Regions from separate parts of the Homo sapiens genome. Here region 2 is linked to region 1. The links are contacts of gene promoters, found by promoter capture Hi-C in blood cells and fetal thymus (Javierre and others, 2016). All regions are on one chromosome and are shown on one strand. The core of a region is centred on a gene start or on the middle of the fragment in contact, and the rest is flanking DNA. Distances in the headings are between cores, read along the strand shown. Region 1 holds the start of AKT3 (AKT serine/threonine kinase 3). Region 2 overlaps SDCCAG8 (SHH signaling and ciliogenesis regulator SDCCAG8).

Region 1 (4,584 bases), core at 1,895-4,394:
GCTGGTAGTCTCAGCTACTCAGGAGGCTGAGGCAGGAGGGTTGCCTGAGCCTAGGAGTTCCAGGCTACAGTGAGCTATGATCATGCCACTGCACTCCAGTCTGGGTGACAGAATGAGACACTGTCTCTAAAAAAAAAAAAAAAAAAAAAAAAAAAAAAAAAAAAAAAAACAAAGAAAAAGAAAAAGAGGTCCAAGAGAGTTCCCTCACTCTTTCTAAAATGTGAAGACACAGCAAGAAGTCACCACCTACAAACCAGGAAACGGAACCCTCTTTAGACACCAAATCTGCTGGTGCCATGATCTTGGACTTCCCAGCCTCCAGAACTGTTAGAAATAAATTTCTGTTCTTTATAAGCTACCTAGTTGATGGTATTTTGTTATAGCAGCCTGAATGGACTAAGACATTAGATGCTCTGAAATTCTAAATATCCTTCCAGTTTTAGTTACTCCCAAGAAATGGGGGAAGTACCAAGAAATAGCTCAGTATCAAACTTAGTCATTGGTAGTAAAGAAGAATGAACATTTTTCTTAAAATGAATAAATAACTAATACTGAGAAATGTTAATCTTAAGAATATTTGGTGTAATAAAGAATGAAGGCTTTCTTTGCAAAATTTAGGAGGGACATTCCCAGGGATGAACATGCTGGCTGCACTCCATATTACTGGATGTGATAACAAAATAGAGAAGAAATCTGCCACACACTCTGTATGGAGTACCGACATACCACAATCGGCAGATTCTACCAAATTCATACCGGCATAGTCTAAGAGAAAGAACAACGTTATTTAAATAAATAATATCCCTAATCAATAGTAATTCAATAACAAAATCAAACATGCTTTTATTATGGAAACTTATGAAACTACTATAGTCCACAAGCAAAAATTGAACAGAAATAAAAACTTATAATTCTTCAAATACATGAAGCCGAGAGTATATAATCCATTCTCACATACTGAATTTTAGGGTTTAATCCACCTAAGATTTAATGCAATCTGACCAGACTGGGAGAAATATTTTGAGGTAGTATGGCTCATAAGACACATTCAGTTCTTGTAAATATATTGATGTTAAATTTGGGAACAAATGAACATCTCACTGATAAGAGATATCTAGTAATTCAGTAATTCCGGATACTCTGACTCTCAAAAGTTAAGTATTTAAAGTTTCAGACACTCTTTTTAGTGCTGGTGTCATAAGGGACTATTTTCTTAAAAATAAAAAGCAAGTTGGGGTACTATGGAATAAAAATATGACCTATTTTTGTGTTTTACAGCAAGAAACCTGTAACCCAATAATTTTACCAATAGTGACTGTGAGAGGTCTGATAATTATGGGAATACATTATGTATATTTTATAGATACAACGAAAATAGGACAAAGTCTGTTTATTCATCAGCTCATAGCATGCTGGGAAATATGGGAAAAGGGGAAAGGCATGGTGCAGGACTTTCTCTCAGACGGACTGTGTTATCTTAAAATGGCAAATTTTGCTCCAGGGTGGTCAGGGAGACAAGTTTCCCTTACAAACGGAGAAAACTGACTTTTTTAAAAAACCCTTTTATTTGGTTTCCTACTCCTGTCCACAATCCCAACAGATGCACAGTTCATAAAAGATGTGAACCTGGAAGTATAAATATTAATACCACACAGTACATAAATACCAGGGGGCTACAGTATAAGAAAATGACTACCATAAGAGAGTTGTCAAGACATAGAAAAGCAGAGAATGAAGTGCATGTCAGGAGGAGGAACTCTTCTGCAGAAAGAAGCCACAGACATTAACAAAAATGTTGCAGTGGGAGAAAGTAACAGGTACATCAACAAGGCTAGAGCCACGTGGCGGGATAATAGGGATGCTGCCCAGGTGTTTCCAGAAGCGATAAAACTTGTAAACTTTTATAATTTTCTGAAGTGCGCTGCATGGTAAAATATGGTCATTGTGCAAAAAAGTTGTCCCCAATGCAGTCTCAGGAGTCACTGACTTCAAAATAAAGAAACGGTCTCTTCGTAGTAAATGTAGTACCTCGTGGCTTTCCCAAAGTCATTGAAAACGAATATCCCTAAAAAGGGTGTGATTTCAAGAGTGAATTACGATCCGCCCGCAATCTGTGTACCGTGTGTGGACGAATGCTTGCAGCGAGCGGTGCGGAAGGCTGTTCAGAGAGGTGTTTTTGGTCTGCCGTGGTCTCCTGGGATAGTCAGGAATGATTCTTGCTACGGGCTGACCCGGGTTCCCTCTTCCCCGAGGTGCAGGGGGTGGGGTCGGCTTCTGGACTGCTCCGCGCTCTCCGGTCCCTACCTCATTGGGCACCGCCCACTTCGTGGGCTTCCAGGTGCGAGCCCTCGCGCCGGGCCCATCTCCCCAAGGGGCCGCGGCGGACTGGAGGAGACGCCCGGGGCCTGGCGGCGCGCGCGTCCGCGGCCAGGGCGGGTGGGCGGATGCGCCGAGGAAGCGGCTGGGCGAGGAGCCTCCGCTCCCGGGCCTCGGGTGCCCGCCAAGGGCCACGCGGGCGAGGGGGAAACCCAGAACTTCCCGCCCGGGAGCGACTGCCCCCGCTCCCGGCTCTGGCTGGCTAGGGGGATGTTCTCGCGAGAGGAGAGGGGGCGCGGGGCACCGCTGGTTTGGGGGCGCGGGGAAGCCTGAGGACGAGGGCCGGGCAGGGAGGGGAGCAGAGGCGGCGGGCAGGGCCGGGGACGCGGGGAAGCCGCTCCCGCCAGTCGCCGAGAGCCAGCCCCTGACGTCAGGAGTTTTCCTCAAAGTCAACAACAAGCCCCGCGGCGACGGCGAGAACCGATCGGCGGCGGCCCCGAGCGGGAGGAAGGAGGGGGCGGGGAGGCGGCGGGGGGTCCCCTCAGCGAGGCGCAGCCCGGGAGGAGGCCGCAGAACCCCTCCCCGCGCCGGGCGCGCCCCGGGGCCCAGAGCCGCCGCCCCGCCGGCGTGACCCGGCCCCCGCCCGAGCGGTGTTTTCTGGTGATGAATTTGTAGCCGATATCCGATTCCCATGTAGAGTCTCCGCCTCCTCCTCTCCCCGCCGCCGCCCTCTCTCCTCCCTCCCCCTCCCGCCGCCGCCGCCGCCGCCGCCGCCTCCCGCTCCAGCTCCGCGGCCCGGCCCGGCCGGCTCCCTCCCTCCCTCCCCTGCAGCCCTTCGCTTGCCCTCCCGCCGGCCGCACCGGGCTCCAGGAGGCCAGAGGCTCTGTGGGGTGGGGGGAGGACAGGAGGGGAGGAGGAGGGAGGGGGGACCCCCGAGTCGCCCCCTCTCCTCCCCCCGCCCCCCCCCGGCTCCATCCTCCGCCGCCGCCCGAGCAGCTGCGGGGCCGCCACCGCCGCCGCCGCCGTTGCAGGTAACAGCCACCGCCCCCAACTCTAGCCCCCTCCCCGCCTGGCCTCCACTCCCTCCGGGCCCCGGGCCCCGGTCCGCCCTCCCTGCCTCCCTCAGGCGGGGGATGGCGGCGGGGTGGGGTGAGGCGGGGGCTTCTGGGTTGTCACCGCGCCGGGGGCGTGGGCGGGGGCTGGGTCACCGGAGGCTTCGGGTGTGGGTGTGGAGGCCGGGGGATGCCCAGCGCGGTTGACACCGACACCCCCCGCTTTCCGGGGAAAGCTGGGGGGCGGCGGTGCGCAGCGGGCCGGGGGAGGGGTGTTCCCGGCCTAGCGGTACCGTCTGTGTCTGGGCTGCCCCGGCCCGGCGCCTGCTGTCTGCGCAACTCTCGCTCCTTCCCCTCGCCCCTCCCCGCCCGGGCCGCGCGGCGTGGGGAGGGGGCGCCCGCCTGGACCGGGGGCGGCGGCGAGGTTATATAACGCGTGGAGCGCCGGTGTCAGTGTGTTTGGGTTGGGGGGAGGGAGCCGTCTGCCGCGCGCCCTGGCGCTGAGGCTGTCTGCGCGTGGGGTGGGGTGAAGGCGAGGATGCACAGGCGTCCCCGGGGTCTCCTTCCTTCCCCCACCCTTCCCCGCCACTGGCGCGCAGGAAAAGACGGCACTGGTGGGGTGGGGGGGGGGGTGTGTGTGTGGGAGGTGGGTAACGTGCTTGTCTGTGTTTTTAATAGTAGTGGGGTTTTGATCCGCTTGGGAGTTGTGTGCTAAGAATAGAAATGTGCGGAAGATGCTGGGTTTGGCTGATCCAGTGATGCTGTCGCTGCTGGCGGCGGCGGCAGCTCTGGCTGCAAGTAAACAGACCAGCCTCTTCCTTGTCCACCTCCTCCGGCGCATCGGTCCGCATCAGCCATGATGCCGGTGGGGCCCTTCAGAGCCCAAAGTTGAAGCCTAGCTGGTTGCTGTGTTGACCCTGACGCCGAGGCGGGGTCACCATCCCTTGTTTGGGATTTCCCGGGAATCTACAGTTAGCCTAGAGATAAAGAATCTCGTTGGGGCCAGGTTTTTCCAATACCGGTATTTACTGTTTATGTTCTGAAAGCAGAGGAAATGCTTACCCACAAGTCAAAGCTGGGATGCTCACATTTCTTCCATCAAAATAATGTTGTTATGAAAATAAAACCAACTCATTTCACCAATGTGGCATTTTGGTTGAAAGCCTGGTAGTTTGCAATTGATGAAGTTTCCAAATAGAAAGTCAACAGTGAAACC
Region 2 (4,170 bases), core at 521-3,020, 520 kb after region 1:
AAGTGAGCTGTGAACACCCCACTGAGCTCCAGCCTGGGTGACAGAGTGAGACCCTGTCTCAAATACAAACAAACAAACAAACAAACAACTCTGAAGAATCAGTTAAAGAGGGCAGAGGAAGACTCCTCTAGGCAGAGGGCAAAGCACATGCAATATCCTGCACTGGAAAAAACAGTATGGAAGAGAGGCATATGTACATGCTTGGGGAAGCACAAGTAGGTCAGTGTGGTGAGGGTGCAAAGAAGAAAAATGAAGGAACATAAGACCGGAGAGCCAAAGAGAGGAACAATATTGTAGAGTCTTCATGCTATGATAAAGGATCCTAAATTTTATTCAAGGTTGCAGGGAGACGTGAAAGGAGTTTTAAAGCAAGAGACTGACATATTGAGAAAGATCATCCCAGCTGCAGTTTGGAGAACAGATAGGAAGGAGGTGAGACTGGAGGCAAGGACACCACAGGGGCTATAGGAACCATCCAAGGATGAGATATGGTAGCAGTAGGATAGAGAGACAAGGCAATGTAAATGCTCAGGGGCTTAAGTCTTAGAGCCTGGTGATGATGAGATGTGTGGGGTGAGAAAGACGGGGGAGAAAAGGGTGACAAGATTTCTGTGCTGGATAACTGGATAAATAGTGGATCCACTGGGATAGGAGGTGGAAAGTAAAGCTGGTTTGGGAGCTCAGTATACAGTTAAGGATCTAGAAATCAAATAGCTTTAGTCTTGAAGCTTTAGGTCCTAAGGCTATATATACATGGAATTCAAGCTATAGTACTGCTAAAGACACCTAAATCTTTAGCTCCCTGCTAAACTCCAGAACCTCCTATCAAGCTGCTTTCTGGATGTGTCTCCTTTATTGTCTCAAAGGCACTTTAAACTCAGAGTAATGTAAAAAGCACACATCATCATTCTCCCAAATCAAGAATATGAATTCAAAGAAATCATAGAGAATCTTTTAAGGAGAATAAGACTGAAAAAAAATCAGTAAATATAGTGTAAACAGATCTTCAGTGAACATAGCAATGGTAATTTCACTGGCTGTGGCATGGAAGTTGAAATGCAGTGGGCTGAAGAGTAAGTGAGAGGTGACAAAATAAAGACAACATGTATGGACAAATCTTTCAAGAAACTCGACTATTAAGAGAAAGAGTCAAAGAGGGAGATGGAATTACTGACGTGGTTTCCAACCTTGGCTGCACATTGGAATCACCTAGGTGAGTTTCAAACACACTGACACCTGGATGCTTCTCTCAGACATTTTGATGTAATGGGTGTGGGGTACTGTTTGGACAATCAGATTTTTAGAACTTCTTGCGTGCCAAAAATTAAGAACCACAGATTAGAAGAAAGATTGTTCCTTTCAACAGTAAGAGACATCTGAAAATATTTTCCTGAGGATAAGAAAGAGACTGTAGTGAAGGAAAGATTGATTCAGAAAAGTGGAACAAACAAATGGAATGAGTTCCTTGAGGGGGTGAAAGGAGACGAGGTCCATGGGAAGGGGAAGGGATTAGGAAGACACCTTTCCCATTCAGACTGGGTTGGAATACAGGTGAAAATTTATTTTAAGGCATGGACAAGAGAAATAGTTGAGGTGGTCATCACCCAACGGCTTCCATTTTCTTTGTTAGTTAAGTAAGGCTCTCTGCTGAGAATAAGAGGAAAAATGGTATTATAGAGAATTTGAGAAGAACAAGTGATTTGAAACAGTCTTTAAAGAAATGCATTTAAGATACCATCACTTCCCACCTGGACTACGATAATCACCTCCAGACCTGGACTACGATAATCACCTCCAGACCTGGACTACGATAACCACCTCCAGACCGGGACCACGATAATCACCTCCAGACCTGGACTACGATAACCACCTCCAGACCGGGACCACGATAATCACCTCCAGACCCGGACCACAATAATCACCTCCAGACCTGGACCGCGAAAATCACCTCCAGACCTGGACCGCGAAAATCACCTCCAGACCTGGACTGCGATAATCACCTCCAGACCGGGACCGCGATAATCACCTCCAGACCGGGTCTGTGATAATCACCTCCAGACTGAGACCGCAATAATCACCTGCAGACCTGGACAGCAATAATCACCTCCAGACCGGGACCGTGATAATCACCTCCAGACCTGGACTGCGAAAATCACCTCCAGAGCTGGATTATGATAATCACCTCCAGAGGGGGATTATGATAATCACCTCCAGACCTGGACTGTGAGTCACCTCCAGACCTGGACTACGATAATGACCTCCAGCTGATCTCCAGGCATCTATTCTGCTTCTCCTTCCAATCCACTGACAAAATGATTTTTCTCAAATATAAATGGCATCGTGACACTGACAAATTCAAAGCCATTCAATGGCTTTCCATCCCTTTTTGGACAAAATTGAAAATCCTTCATATGGATTTTAAAGCCATTCATGATTCCATCCCAACATAATTCTCCAAACTCATTCCCACTACTCTGCTCCTCTCTCTCTATGCTCCACCCATCAGGGCCTTCTCCAAATTCCTAGAAAGTGCGATGCTTTCCAGGTCCAGAGTCTTGGGTGTGTTATATTCCTGGGCCTGAAACCCTCTTCCCCTCTTCACCTGTCCATTCATCAATGCTTTCAGGTCTCATTTTCAACATCTCTTACTCAGGAAAGTCTTTCGTGACTGCCTAGACAAGGTCAGATTCCTGTTACACATTCCCACGATATCCTAAACCGAACCTTATGGCTTTATCACAATGATGATCGAAAACTCACTTATGAAAACATTTGTGTAACATCTACTTCTCCTACGAGTTTGTAAGCTTCATGAGGAAACTGCATCGTTCCTGTGACTACAACATTCCCAGCCCCTCTGGTTAATATCTGTTGAGTGTGGAATGAATAAGAGAGAGGAAGGCAAAAGAGGACTGCTAGAAAGCACTGAAAGGACCGTGGACACCGAAGACCTGGAGTCTACAGCCATGTCATCTGCAAGGCTGTGTGATTTTTACCAGCAGAGATCACCAATCCAGGGCAGAGAAGGTAGGTAGTAGGGTTTTGACAGACACAATTTTTAAAAATGGATAAGAAGACAAGGACATTTACAGGAAATGCCTGAGTTTACTCTTATTAAGACTTAAAACTCATAGGGCAGAAGTTGTGATTTTTCTCTTTACATATCTTTAGGCCTCCACATTGCTTTGCACACAGCACATACTCAGTATATACTTACTGAATAAGTTAATTATCACACATTGAATCTGATAACAACATAGCATTTAGAGTACAAGCTGTGAGTCCACTTTTAAAAACAAACATGTAACACAGTTGTTTTGGTTACTTGATGGACCACAACTTGCTCAATTCGAGTCTAGTTAGCAATTTTAAAGCTAGGTCCCACTCAACTCTGTATTCTAGTTTGTGAACTCCTTTTCAAACACTGCTTGTTTCATGTTATCTGTTCCTTTTGCCTTAAATCTCTCCCTTCATCTGGTTACCGTCATTATTCATCATGTAATTTGTCAGAACTGATTTCATACAGAGTGCATAATCACTTTTTCTTGGTTACTCAGTTCCTTACAAGTGTTTCATCTTCTGCATATTTAATTTAGGGGTAGGAGATAATGCAGGGGAAGTCATCTCTCCTTGATTTAGCCAAGGTTGAAATAAAATCTGGGTATCTTCATAGCACGACTCTGGGAAACACGAGAGAGGGAATCCAACAGAATGGCAGGATTTAAAGTAAATTTTGTAATTTCATTGTATGGAATCTAACTGATTATTTTATTTGAAAAGATCAGCATAAACTATTGAGAAATATATGAAAAGATAAAACATTTTTATGAATTCTAAATTATACGAAATTTAACTACTTATATAATAACGATTTTAAAATTTAAAGTTCATTCAAGAACTCCAGCCTATGGAATCATCAATGGCATCATAAAAAACCTTTCTTCTGCAATGTGGATAACAGCAGAGTCCTTAAGTACCTTTGATCCCATGTACTCCCTTTCTTTCGTTATTTCCTTTTTCATCATGTCTTTCTCAATGGCCCTTTTCTCTTGCTGAGATGCAAGTTCTTTTTCAAGTCGCTCCGCCTGCCTCTCCAGCTCCTTCCTCAACTGGTCACACTGGATTAAAGCCTGCCAGGATAGAACAGATTGAAAGAGGAGGTTAGAATTT

The links. Contacts are between HindIII fragments. The CHiCAGO score rates a contact against its expected background, and 5 or more counts as called.
Region 2: a contact is called between a fragment that was not itself captured here and the fragment with the promoter of AKT3 in region 1, in 1 of 17 cell types (monocytes). The highest score is 5.3, in monocytes.

The regions. Positions count from the first base shown.
Region 1 is chr1:243,848,803-243,853,386 of GRCh38, reverse strand. It overlaps AKT3 (AKT serine/threonine kinase 3), which reads left to right and starts at 3,144. Exons shown (of 14, transcript NM_005465.7): 1 at 3,144-3,347. RefSeq lists an enhancer at 3,735-4,235. The HindIII fragment of the contact is 10,171 bases long and covers 1-4,584 here.
Region 2 is chr1:243,330,500-243,334,669 of GRCh38, reverse strand. SDCCAG8 (SHH signaling and ciliogenesis regulator SDCCAG8) reads right to left here. Exons shown (of 18, transcript NM_006642.5): 10 at 3,978-4,130. Among named protein-coding and RNA genes, the nearest start is that of MIR4677, 14 kb to the left of the region's middle. The HindIII fragment of the contact is 2,079 bases long and covers 731-2,809 here.